Linked DNA regions of Homo sapiens: all the other regions are linked to region 1. Evidence: promoter capture Hi-C in human tissues and cell types (Jung and others, 2019). All regions are on one chromosome and are shown on one strand. The core of a region is centred on a gene start or on the middle of the fragment in contact, and the rest is flanking DNA. Distances in the headings are between cores, read along the strand shown. Region 1 holds the start of FAM221A (family with sequence similarity 221 member A). Region 2 overlaps GPNMB (glycoprotein nmb). Region 3 overlaps IGF2BP3 (insulin like growth factor 2 mRNA binding protein 3).

The links. The method cuts DNA at HindIII sites, captures the fragments that hold promoters and counts their contacts. A contact is called where the count stands out against the background at its distance.
Region 2: a fragment that was not itself captured here is called in contact with the fragment with the promoter of FAM221A in region 1 in 1 of the 25 tissues and cell types used here (IMR-90 fibroblasts).
Region 3: a contact is called between a fragment that was not itself captured here and the fragment with the promoter of FAM221A in region 1, in 1 of the 25 tissues and cell types used here (H1 embryonic stem cells).

The regions. Positions count from the first base shown.
Region 1 is chr7:23,678,384-23,682,887 of GRCh38, reverse strand. FAM221A (family with sequence similarity 221 member A) reads right to left here and starts at 2,689. Exons shown (of 7, transcript NM_199136.5): 1 at 2,605-2,689. The coding sequence starts at 2,669. RefSeq lists an enhancer at 1,886-2,135 and a silencer at 2,466-2,755. The HindIII fragment of the contact is 14,044 bases long and covers 1-4,504 here.
Region 2 is chr7:23,271,377-23,275,880 of GRCh38, reverse strand. GPNMB (glycoprotein nmb) reads right to left here. Exons shown (of 11, transcript NM_002510.3): 10 at 2,267-2,360; 11 at 773-1,816. The coding sequence ends at 1,657. Among named protein-coding and RNA genes, the nearest start is that of MALSU1, 26 kb to the left of the region's middle. RefSeq lists a silencer at 4,009-4,213. The HindIII fragment of the contact is 7,079 bases long and covers 1-4,504 here.
Region 3 is chr7:23,351,251-23,355,754 of GRCh38, reverse strand. IGF2BP3 (insulin like growth factor 2 mRNA binding protein 3) reads left to right here. Exons shown (of 15, transcript NM_006547.3): 6 at 4,169-4,450. Among named protein-coding and RNA genes, the nearest start is that of SNORD65C, 43 kb to the left of the region's middle. RefSeq lists a silencer at 875-1,034. The HindIII fragment of the contact is 5,856 bases long and covers 1-4,504 here.

The DNA.
Region 1 (4,504 bases), core at 1,440-3,939:
ATCAAGAATACCAACAGGTATTAAGATCTTAAGATAAATACGGATCTTTAAAAGATCTTTTAAAAGTAAGATGTCATTGGTATTTAAGTTCTAGACCAGTGCAACTCAAATTTTATTGTACTTACAGAATCCCCAGGGGATCTTGCTCAAATGCAGATTAAGACTCACAGCACAGTGGCTCATGCCTGTAATCCCAGGACTTTGGGAGGCGGAAGCAGGAGGATCACTTGAGGTCAGGAGTTCGAGCCCAGCCTGGCCAATATAGCAAAACCCTGTCTCTACCAATAATACAAAAATTAGTATTTTGGTGGGCACCTATAATCCCAACTACTCTGGAAACTGAGGCACTGAGAATCACTTCCACGGAGGCAGAGGTTACAGTGAGCTGAGATAGCGCCACTGCACTCCAGCCTGGGCAGCAGAGCAAGACTCTATCTAAAAAAAAAAATAATAATAATAATAATAATAATAATAAATATATATATACATACACACACACACACACACACACACACATGATAAAGCCAGATGTGGTGGCTCACACCTGTAATACCAGCACTTTGGGAGGCTGAGGTGGGAGGATTGCTTGAGGCCAGGATCTCAAGATGAGCCTGGGCATCCTAGTGAGATCCCATCTCTACAAAAAATTTTAAAATTAGCTGGGTGCGGAGATGCATGCCTGTAGTCCTAGCTAGTTAGGAGGCTGAGAAGAGAGAGTCGCTTCAGCTCAGGAGGTCAAGGTTGCAGTCAGCCATTATAGTGCCACTGCACTCCAGCCTGGGTGACAGAGCGAGACTCTAAATAATAATAATAATAATAGGTCTGCAGTGGGCCTGAGATTCTGCTTTTCTAACAAGCTAACAGGTGATGCCAGGACACTGGTCAGGGCCTCCCACAGTGTGAGTAACAAGGCTGCATGCTTCCCCTCCCAACCGACTCCCACCGAAGTACCTAGGCAAGAGCAAATCCAGGAAAACTCTTCGGAAGGAAAGTTTGTTTCCTTCTAAACTCATATTTTGACTCATCTTCCCACCCCACCTTCCCAGCCCACCTTTTCATATCTAGGTACTCAAGTCCTGTTTTCCCCACTTTTCTAAAATTCTGACGTCAGTAAAGGACCTGATAATCTCTTTCAGAGGGAAGTGTTGCAAGTTATTTACGATTGCAAAAATAATTTCCCAGCCGGGCGCGGTGGCCCAGGCCTGTAATCCCAACACTTTAGGAGGCCGAGGCAGGTGGATAGCTTGAGTCCAGGAGTTCAAGACCAGCCTGGGCAACGTGGTGAAATCCCGTCTCTACAGAAAATACAAAAATTAGCTGGCCGCCTGTAGTCCCAGCTACTCGGGAGGCTGAGGCAGGAGAATCACTTGAACCCAGGAAGCGGAGATTGCGGTGAGCCGAGATCGCGCCACTGCACTCCAGCCTGGGAAAGAGTCAGACCCCGTCTCAATAAAATAAATAACTAAATAATTTCTCAATAAAATAAATAACTACATACATAGGTCTGCCCTAACATGTTCGGAGCTAGGCAAGAGTCAACTGGAGGCCCACAATTCACATATCTAAATATCCAAGTTATCAGTCAACACCAGCTCCAGCAACTTGCTCCCAGGCAAAAGCTCTGGAGAACTGGAGGCTAAAGGAGCCGGCTCTGCTCTGGGAGAGGACGGGATGGTGGTTGTTCTGACCCTGAACCGGGCGTGGGAACTGACCCCATCAAGCTCCTAGCCCTTATTCTTCTGGCTCAGAATATCCAGGCAGTTCTAAGGGTTACCCAAAACTACACAAACAGGGCAGTCAGAGCAGGGGAGAACAGTCAGCTGGGGGGCCGTCTGCGCGCACACCTCTGGGTCATCTGGGCCACCCACGATGCCGCAGAGGAGCCCCTGTCGCTCGCTCCGGCCTCCCTGGCGGAGCCTGGAGCGTCTCCCCTCCGCTTGTACACACACATCCTCCCGCCCCAACTCCGCGTCCTCAGGCGGTCCTCTCCAGGACTTCCCATCCGCCCAGATTCCGGACGATCAAAAACCCCAGGAAGCGGAAAAAGAGCGCGTCGCTGCAGGTGCACCAGCCTCGGTCAGGATCCAGGACAATGAACCGCGTCCTCAGGCCAAAGGAGCGACTCCGTTTCCAGTTTCGGAAGGGGTTTCTCCAGAATACCAAACACCAGTCGGTGCCTTTCTCCTAAAACCAGCACCTCGGGGTGGGGAGCGCGTTCAGAAGTTCACGGTTGACTCAATTACTGGGTTAATTTGATGTATGCTAACTTCTATAGCCCCGAGTACTCGATGTGCCTGTTTTCAATGGCCATTTAAAAAACAGCTGGACCTCTGTATCAATCTAGAGTTAGTCATCCTTCTTGGAAGGGAGCAGAGGGGCCTCTTAAATGTTATTGGAAGACTCATCACTGCATAGAACCGCGTGGCCCTACAATATTTAATTAGGCAAAGACTAAACTGGAATTCATCTAGGCCTCCCCCAACAGCCCAGGCACAGATTCCGGGAACCCCCGCGGACGCCCGCCGGGCCCCTGCTCGCGCCCCCAGCCCAGGGATCCTGGCCCCTCGGAGCGGCGGGGGGGCAGGCCCGGAGCCACAGCCTCACCTCCGGTACTCCAGGTACTCGTCCACCGCCGCCGCGCCGCCGAGAGGCAACGTCAACCGCTCCATTGCCGGTGGGGAAGCCAAAGGCTTCCCTGCGGACCAGCTGACCTCGAAGCCCGACCCGCCCCGTTCCCTCCCGGTACCGCGCCCCCTCCCGCCCGCCTCCTGATTGGCCCGGCCTGAAGCCCGAGGAGGCCGCGCGCGGCAACTGCGCAGGACGCGCGCCCCTACTGGCTGCCGGCGCCAGGCACCAGAACCCGGATCTCCGCAAGCGCAGCCTCGCGCCACATGGAGTGCAGTTTGCCGCCCTCCACAAACCTTGCACCTATTCCCCTCTCCCTTCCCTGGACCGGCGAGTCTTCTTGTAAATTAACAAGTGACAAGGGAGTGCAGTGCCTTGCATATAACAGGCGCATAGAAAATGGCTTATTTCTTTGTACAGCTCTTTTCGCTTAATCCATCTCTTGAAATATAAGTAGTTTTGAGAAGGTTCTGCTTTAGTTTGAGGCCTGCCTCTCCTTAACTGTCGGCCTGTTTCCAGTATTGGCGTTTTCAAAAACTCTGATGTAACAATCAGTAGTCCTGGGTATCTGGGTTCACTTTGGGGGTTGCTAAAGCTACATGTTCTTCAAAGGAACCGAATAACTGATTTAAGGTGAAGCAAGTAAAAACAATTTAGGTGAAGTTTTGTTGTTGTTTTTTAACTTTTGGAAACACTCTGCAAAATATATTTAGAAGCTGAATTACCATGCGATTGGTAATTTGGCCATAATTTGACTTAGCACGTTGTGGAAAAGAATAGGAAATCTTCAGGCGAAGTCATTAAACTCTGAAGCTCCCAGGGGATCAGCTTTAGCGCCCTCTGTAAAGTATCTGGGAGGGAGAATATGCAAACAATAAGAAAAATAATTAAACTTCAGTACAGTACTTTAGTTTCAAAGTACTGTTCTACATATTTCAGGTCCATAAAACATTATGTAAACAAATTGTTTGGGTACCACCCACCTCCCTTCTCGGTACCCTTTCAACAAACCCCACCCTCTCCCCAAAGTCTTCCTCCTGTTCAGAGGCGTTCTTGACAGTCAGATAAATGAGTGATCCTGAAATCGGATTCATATTTTAGGAAACTGATCTCAGCTCAGTATTCTCTCCTATCACACGTGTGGTTTGCTGCTGTCCATTTTACCTCTTCCACCCGACACCTCCCAGATGGGGTCTTGCTCCGTCTCCAAGGCTGGAGTGCAGTGGCGGGATCTCGACTCACTGCAATCTCTGCCTCCTAGGTTCAAGCAATTCTCCTGCCTCAGCCTCCTGAGTAGCTGGGATTACAGGCACTAGCCACCACGCCTGGCTTTTGTGTGTGTGTGTGTGTGTGTATTTTTAGTAGAGACAGGGTTTCACCATGTTGGCCAGGCTGGTCTTGATCTCCTGACCTCGTGATTTGCCCGCCTCAGCCTCCCAAAGTGCTGGGATTACAGGCGTGAGCCACCACGCCCAGCCCCATTCTACCTCTATGAGAGCCTAGTCTTGCTTTTAGGCAGCAACTGAACTAACAAAGAAAAATAGAAGAAAATGCCAGGCTCTGCAGGCTTACAGAAAAGTGGCAGGGGAATGTCTGTGTAGGCAAGTACAATTTAAAAATCTAGAGGGAAATGGTTAAAATAGATTTAGCCCAATTGTGGACTCTTCCAGGAAGATGCTGGAGCAGTAAACTCTTCTGGCCAAAGAAGTCAACAAAAATATTGAGCGTGACGAATAAGAGTATGGAACAAACTAGAAAATGTTATCCTGACCTTACATAAAGCTGACAGATTTGCAAATTAAAATACTGTATATGGTACTCACCTCTGCTTTAATAAAAAGGTATAATCAAACTATAACTTCCTCCCAATGTGTAGCTA
Region 2 (4,504 bases), core at 892-3,391, 410 kb after region 1:
CCAGGACAATCGCTTATAGAAAATCTCTTCTTTTAGATTGATCTGATTATATACATTTACACATTAAACTTTTATTTGAAGTTTCACATATGATGTGATTGTGTGTATATACAGATATTTGAAAGATATATATATATATATCTTTTTTTTTTTTTGAGACAGAATCTGGCTCTGTTTCCTAGGCTGGAGTGCAGTGGCACCATCTCGGCTCACTGCAGCCTTGACCTCCAGGGCTGAAGTGATCCTCCCACCCCAGCCTCCTGAGTAGCTGGGACTACAGGCATGTACCATCAGGCCTGGCTAATTTTTGTATTTTTTGTAGAGACGGGGTTTCATCATGTTGCCCAGGCTGGTCTCAAACTGCTGAGCTTAAGCAGTCTGCCTGCCTCAGCCTCCCAAAGTGCTGGGATTATAGGTGTGAGCCACTGTGCTCAGCCATATATATATATATATATATATATATATATATATATATATATATATATATATGTAGTTAGGTAAAAAATATTTATGAGATTATCAATGCTCTATGAGACATTGTTAAACAACTTTTTACTTGTCAAAAACTATAAATGAAATTGAGGCTGGGTACAGTGGCTTACTCCTGTAATCCCAGCGCTTTGGGATGCTGAGGCAGGAGGATCCTTTGAGGCCAGGAGTCTGAGACCAGCTTGGACAATATAGGGAGACCCTCATCTAAAAAAAAGAAACAACTGTAAGTGAAATTGAAAAGCAAATGATGAATCAGAAAAATAATTACAATACCAAGGTCTTGTCTCTTCCCACACTTTATTTTTCAGGAAGGAGAGAAAAAGAATGTCATGTCTAACATATAGTAGATGGTTTTAGTTACAAACAGAGGTGAAATCCTTACTGATCAAGTTGCCATGAAAAACCAGGGACCTCATCTTTGGAAAGTCTTAATATATGATTTCAAATATGTGCAGCGACTGTACAAAAATTTGGAAATATACACAAGAGTGTCACTCAGCATCATGCCTGGTATATAAAAAGCACTAACTAAATGTCCATGGAATAAATGAATATATGAATATCATTCCTTCACTCAGCCAAGCAAAGTAGGTTGTCACCAAAATACTCCCACCCATTTATGAGAGTAGTATTTTTTCTGAGTCTAGCAAGTGTGCACATCATACCACAGGCTTGGGCCTGTTATTGTTCCATCAGGAGTTCATGAGTGTGTATTGAAGTGGGATTCAGTTAGCTTGGAACATGATCTTAGAAACTGGACTACATTGGCTTTATGCATACAGTTACATGGAAAGCTGAAAGTATCCCGCCTCTTCTTGCAGTTAACCTGGGTTAGGCTCTAATCAATAGTAGCTTCTCTCCTTACTCTCGGGACACAGTGTTTCTATCCTACTAGTTACCTAAGACTTTATAAGTGAAACATAAAAAATAATGAAAAGAAGCCTTGCTAAGTTGCTTTTATCAGTTTCACAACATGGCTGAAGCTGCCTGCAGTATAATCCCTCTCCCCATCTCTAAAATGACATTTAACCTATAAAAAATTCAACTTCCCCAAACCACAATATCTATTTAACAATAATCTTTAGGAAAAAAAGGTTAATAGCCACTCCAGCACATCTCACATCAATGGCACTGAAAAGTGAGCTTCAGAAACAAGGTCGAAATTTAAGAAACTCCTTTAAATTCTTGGTTTTTGAGTAGCGGATCCTTTTCCTGGTTTCCCGGGAAGAACACGGCTTTTGCACGGTTGAGAAAGACACTCAGGCCTTTGCTTCTGACCACATTCCCAGGACTATTTTCTATTGGGTTGTATTCCTTGTGTTTTCTGAAAACAATCTGTTGGTTAGTTATTTTTAAAAGATCTTCAGTTGAAATATACAACTTTCTACAATCTTTTTCATGCCAGGTATAAAAGGATTCATTCCATTTAACATGATTGACAGTTTGCAAGACACTGGTGTCTTATGAAAGTACATTTATTTACTCTTGTTCATGCAAGAAATGTGCCTGCTTACTATAATTTGAGACTATCATGTTAAAATTAAGTTGACATAATTTTGTAAAGTTACTGAGATCTGGTAGCATCTTTTAGGATTAAAAACAAACCACAACAAGATTAACAGGCCAGTTTGGTATTCACCATTCAATGTAATATTTTCCTCCCCTACACAAAATGTTTAAAAGCAAAAAAGGGAAAAATGCCTATTTACACAGAGATATATTCACTTTTGACAATACACTATAGTGATATAAAGCGTAGGAACCAAAAACTTACTTGTACACCAAGAGGGAGATCACAGTGACAAATATGGCCAAGCAGCCAACGGAGATCAGGGCACTGTTTGCCATCCTTAAAGGCGAGGCTGGGTCTTAAAACAGAAGCAAGAGCATGTTAGTTATGTCTTCCACCTAGAGGACATGCCGCTTATAATGCCATTAAATAAATGAGGAAGGGAGCCGTCACAGAAGATATATGGCTCCCTCTGGGCTTTCAGTAATCTTTTCTATTAAATAATACATAGTCTTTGGGTCAGCTTATCTTCTATTTAGAGAATGAGTCAGCATGTCTGGAACACTGTGGTAAGGGCGCGGGGGAGAGATGTCACGTCCTGGAGACACCTGCTCAGGTCTTGGGTGACCCAGCAGCGCCACCGTGTGGAAGGGCTCCTGTGATCAGGCGGCCGTGCCTCCAGCTTCCTCTCTCTCTACTTACCTTCTAGCTGTGCTAAAAATCCTGAAAGTTGGCCATACTCCCCGTGCTCTTTCAGACCTCCGTGCCCCCTTACAGGAGTGCCCTTCCCCGGCTCATGCCTGTAATACCAGCACTTTGGGAGGCAGAGGCAACATAGTGAGACCCCAGCTCTACAAAAAATTAAAAAATTAGCCTGGCATGGTGGCGCATGCCTGTGGTGCCAGCTACTCAGGAGGCAGAAGTCAAGGATTGCTTGAGCCCGGGAGGTCGAGGCTGCAGTGAGCCATGATTACCCTACTGCACTGCAGCCTGGGTGACAGAGCAAGACCTTGCCTCAAAAAAAAAAAAAAAGATCACCACCTTTAAAGTTTTCCATGTAACATCTGTCACTGCTCACAGAAGCAGGGACTTCTTTGTCTTGGTTTCTACTCGATCTAGAACTGTATCTTCTGCCTAGAACTGTGCTGAGCATGGAGTAGATGCTCAGGGATATTTGTTGAAAGAATTGCAGGTGCTTCATGAATATCCATTGAATCGATACATAAAAGTCACTTCAACTAAAGTCTATAGGTTTGCTTTGAAGAATGATCTATTTCTGAAATTCTGCCTTTGAAACCCAAGCTATTAAGCTGCAATCCCCACTGAATTAAAACCTTTCCTTCTGAGCATTCATTTTCTCTTTCTCACTCTCTCTCTCTTTCTCTCTCTCTTTTTCTCTCTCTTTCTCTCTCTCTCTCTTTCAGACAGGGTTTTGCTGTGCTGCCCAGGCTGGACTTCTGGGCTCAAGGGATCCTCCCGCCCCAGCCTCCTGAGTAGCTGGGACTACAGGTATGTTCCACTGTGCCTGGCATTCTGAGCTTTCTTTATTTGGCTTTTGAAAATGACTCAGGTCCCACCTAAAGTTATCACTCACTACAAGAAGAATTAAAGGAAAGCAAATGTCTAAAACATCTAATTCACATAAGAGATCAGTGGTTTGCCAGTGCAGAGGAAGCTTAATAGAATGAATTAAGACTCTAAAGGTAATTCTAAACAAACTTTGAGCTGTGGCAGCACTGAAGGAATAACATTAGCAGCTTCTGATGGTGACTGCATCCGAGTCCATGGCCACTTGGATGCAGAGGTTTTGGCTCCCTTCTCCAGTTCCCACCCTCCCCGGCTCTCCACCCAGGCCCTGATCCACCTTCCTGGGCAGGAAGCAGGGCACCCTTGCATCGTTGGTTTTGCTTTTAAATCTGCACCTTGGATATCACCAACAATAAGCCCTCACGCAAATAATTAGATGTATGATTATTTTCTTTTAATGGGATTAAATCTCTTCTTTTAATGGGATTAAAACTGCCATTTATATTATTAATGAGAAAATTTTTTTTTTAGTTTTTTTTGTTGTGTTTGTTTGTTTGAGATGGAGTCTCACTCTGTTGGCCAGGCTGGAGTGCAGTGTCTTCATCTCAGCTCACTGCAACCTCTGCCTCCAGGGTTCAAATTATTCTCCTACCTCAGCCTCCCGAGTAGCTGGGACTACAGGCGCCCACCACCATGCCTGGCTAATTTTTGTATTTTTAGTAGAGATGGGGTTTCACTATGTTGGCCAGGCTGGCCTGGAACTCCTGATCTCAAGTGATCTGCCCACCTTGGCCTCCCAAAGTGCTGGGATTACAGGCGTGAGCCACCGCGCCCAGCTGGAAATATGTGTTTTTGTTTGTTTGTTTGTTTGTTTTTGTAGCTGGAAATACATGTTTAAGAACATATTACCTTATGAGATAGGCTTCAAGTTCAAAGGAGTTATAAGTGAATGAGCTATTAGATTGTACCTGACAA
Region 3 (4,504 bases), core at 1,197-3,696, 330 kb after region 1:
TGTCATATTGTCCAAGCTGGTCTTGAACTCCTGACCTCAAGTGATCCACCCATCTTGGTCTCCCGAAGTGTTGGGATTACAGGCATGAGCCACTGCACCTGGCCCCAGTAAACTTCTTATCAATACATTTAAATTCTACCAACTGGCAAAATTACTCATCATCTTCTCAGCGACCCTTAAAATAGCACCAAGAGCAAAGAGTTAAGTAATGATGACAGGATCCTGGTCTGGCGCTGTGGCTCACACTTGTAATCCAAGCACTTTGGGAGGCTGAGGCAGGTAGATCACTTGAGGTCAGGAGTTCGAGACCAGCCTGACCAACATGGTGAAACCCCGTCTCTAGTTAAAAGAAAAAAAAATACAAAATTAGCTGGGTGTGGTGGTACACGCCTGTAATCCCAGCTACTTGGGAGGAGGAAGGAGAATTGCTCAAACCAAGGAGGTGGAGGTTGCAGCAGTGAGCCGAGATCGCGTCATTGCGCTCCAGCCTGGGCAAAAAAGTGAGACTCTGTCTCAAAAAAAAAAAAAATAAAAATAAAAAGACAAAACCAGGCTCCTGAGTAATATACATGTTGGATAAACATCTTTAAGTTCTGTTTAACTGAATACATATGTGTCAAATAATTATGACAGTCGTTCATCTCATGTCTTGCATCTACGGTGGGTTTGGTGAAAATACTAAAATTTTTTTTCCTCGTGAACTCAGCAGATCACCATATGACATAGATGAATAACAAACTTTGTGCCTAGAAAGATTCTAGTAGTTGACTTAAATTCAGTAATTTAGGAGCTGCAATCATGAGAAAGCCGCCATTCTGCATGTTAGGTTCCTCCTGTACCTTTTCAGCTGTGTCTGACTGTGGATGGAGCACTGTGGTTTGAGGGGTTAGGAACTCTGCTTAGATGGCAATTAGACAGTCAGGTACACACAGTAGTGGCTGTCTGCATTCTGCCTGGAACAGCCTGAGTTTGGAGCCATTGGGGCCCAGAAGGTACACTGGGGACTAGAGCCCCGGGCCACCTGACCTCTTCAGTGAGAGAATCTTTTCTTTTCCCCACAAAGAAAAATCTTTTTAAAGCAGCACAATAAAAGTTAGAAGTTAGTTTTTGCCAAGTTATAAAGTTGTTTCTTGTGATACATGTGACTATTTAGATGGTTCTAGAATATAGAAGCATCTGGTAACTGACGTGTGTACCTTTTACCCCAGGGAGAATGATATCTGTATGTGTCTATCTCACTCAAGAAGAGAGTTATCTACCATTTTTGTAACATTAATGACTTAATTTACTAGTCAAAATATACTTACTCTCTTCTGAAGCTGGCAATACGCCATTTATAATGAAAAAGCCTAGATTACCTTTTATGCCTAGATGTAATTGATGCCTTCAGTGGGTTCAAGTTTCCTGATTTTTTGAAAGAACCTTCAGTGATCTGTTTATTCCCGACTTTAAAAACATTTAAGGTCAGGTGTGGTGGCTCACTCCTGTAATCCCAGCACTTTGGGAGGCCGAGGTGGGTGGATCACCTGAGGTCAAGAGTTCAAGACCAGCCTGGCCAACATAGCAAAACCCATCTCTACTAAAAATACAAAAATTAGCTGAGGGTGGTGGCGTGCGCCTGTAATCCCAGCTACTCAGGAGGCCGAGGCAGGAGAATTGCTTGAAACCAGGAGGTGGAGGTTGCAGTGAGCCAAGATCGCACCACTGTGCTCCAGCCTGGGCAACAAGAACGAAAGTCCATTTCAAAAAAAATAAATAAATAAAGCTGTTTTGAAAGAATCTGTAGTTGGTTGACTCTTCTGCATCTCCAACTTTTTATAACAAATATACACCATAAATATTAAAATATATCAGCTGTCGTCTTCCTTTAGAAATAACCAAAATATTTTAGGTCCCTTAATCCACATTCCCTTAAGAAAAAAAGGGGACAGGAGGAAAGTACAGCGTTAACTTAACGTTCTGTCATCAAGGCATTGGCAAAATAAGTGTGGCATGTGTCAGCTATCATCCTCTGAAGCTTATGAAAAGAATGCCCTCTGACATAGAAATCACATGGAAATATCGCAAGACATTGTATTTAAAAACAAGCCACAGAGCAGTGTACATCACAACCCCAATTATGCTTTTAATGAAGGAACCGAATATGAATACATGTGTTTGTAAACATATAGAAAGGACTGGTCCATTTGTAGAAGTACTGCAGTGAGCAGCAGTTCTGGGAAGGGCCTTGGAGGGTTGGTGACGGTGCCAGAGCAACCTCTTGCTACTTTCTGCATGACTGATCTTTTACAATAAGAGTTCATTCATGTGCCAGAGAAGGTAGGACAGTGATAGAAGACTGAAGTGAGAAACCGAGAATCATTCTGGGCCGGAGAATGTCAGCGAGCCCTCTGTCTGCTTGCCCAGGTCTGCCTTCCAGGTCCTAGCCCTCAGTGACCTTTTTGGTACTAGAACTGTCACCCACTCCACCCCCTTTTTTCTATTTAAGAATTGAGAGTAGATTTGCAAATAAAGCAGTGTATAAGCCGGAAATGACCACACCAAGCAACTAGAAAGAGACCATTTTATGCCTGTTTTTCTTTCCCACCTGGGGTGAACTCAGGGCCATTGGAACAGAATCTGAGCAAAGAACCTGAGTGACACTGGGAAGTGTGGGGACTTCTTTCTTTTTGTTTTTCATTTTGTTGTGCACTGGGGAGTTAAAAAGGGATGTATTGTTAGGTGTATGTTTATGAAATCTGGGCTATTTCGTCTCTACTAGTTTATTATTTTCCCTTCTGAAAACATAACACACACACACAAAATGAATACAAAACAAAGCAAAACAAACAAACAAAAAACCCCAGAAAACAGAACACAACAATTTGGATGAATATTACAATAAATTAAAAGTTTCCAGATATGAGAAAATACATATCATGTATACTCATATATATTTACATAAAATTTTTAAATAGGCAGAATTAATCTATGGTATTAGAAGTCTGCAAGGGGTAGGGGGGCAGTGACTACCGGAAGCAGGTACTGTTGGGGCTTCCGGGGCCCTGGTGTGTTCTAGTTCTGGATCTGGATGTGTGTGTTCACCTTGTGAAAATTCACTGAAATTTATGCTCAAGATTTGGGCACTTTTCCTTGCATGTTAAAATAAAGATCAAGAATGAAAAAGAGGCTGGGTACAGTAGCTCATGCCTGTAATCCCAGCACTTTGGGAGGCCAATGCAGCAGATCACTTGAGGTCAGGAGTTGAAAACCAGCCTGGCCAACATGGTGAAACCCCATCTCTACTAAAAATACAAAAATTAGCCAAGCATGATGGTGCATGCCTATAATCCCAGTTACTTGGGAGGCTGAGGCACAAGAATCTCTTGAACCCCGGAGGCAGAGGTTGCAGTGAGCCAAGATGGCTCTATTGCGCTCCAGCCTGGGTAACAGAGCAAGACTCTGTCTCCAAAAAAAAAAAAAAAAAAAAAAAAAAATGAAAAAGAGAGAAACTCTCCCCCAAATAGTGTGGTAGAATGGGCACACTCTTTTTTTTGGTTTATCACCACCCCTGCCTCTTTGCTCCAAATCAGATCGTAAACCACAAAGTCAGGGACTGGCTCATAATAGGTACTGAGTGTGATTGGTAGAATTTAATACTCAGAATAGTCTCTTGTAAATGGTTTAGAGATATTTGTCCACTGGTTCTTAAAATGGTTTTAAATACTTCATATTTTAGAGGCTGAAGTGAAGGAAGTATATATTTCTGATGTCTCTTCCACTGTGGTTTGGAAACATTAGCCAAGGCAAGAAGCCCACTTGCTTCTCTCTTGCTGCTTAGCTATTCCTAAACCGTTAGTAACCTTATGGGTTAAACTTAACCAAGAGTTTGACAAAATGTTTTTTGTTTTTCTATTTTTCATTAGGAGATGGCACATAGGTTCCCTTTGGAAACTTGTGGTCTTTTTCCCCACTGTGCCTGTCTCAAAGGAAAATGTGTGTGGGTGGTGGTGGTGCGGGGTGGGAGAGGGGAGGATTATGTGTGTTGCGGGTTTGCTGCTTGTGCTGGGGCTTCACTCAGAAGTTTAGAGCTAGTAATGCTGAGTAGAAGAGATGGGTGTTGCTTTGCTAAAAGATGTGTCATATAGCCTGATTCCTTTTCCCACCCCTGCCCCTTTTCAACTTTCAGAGCACTAGACAAACTGAATGGATTTCAGTTAGAGAATTTCACCTTGAAAGTAGCCTATATCCCTGATGAAATGGCCGCCCAGCAAAACCCCTTGCAGCAGCCCCGAGGTCGCCGGGGGCTTGGGCAGAGGGGCTCCTCAAGGCAGGGGTCTCCAGGATCCGTATCCAAGCAGAAACCATGTGATTTGCCTCTGCGCCTGCTGGTTCCCACCCAATTTGTTGGAGCCATCATAGGAAAAGAAGGTGCCACCATTCGGAACATCACCAAACAGACCCAGTCTAAGTGAGTATGCTGAGTGTGTGGTGGGTGTTCATGAGAATTCCCCTTGGAATCTTA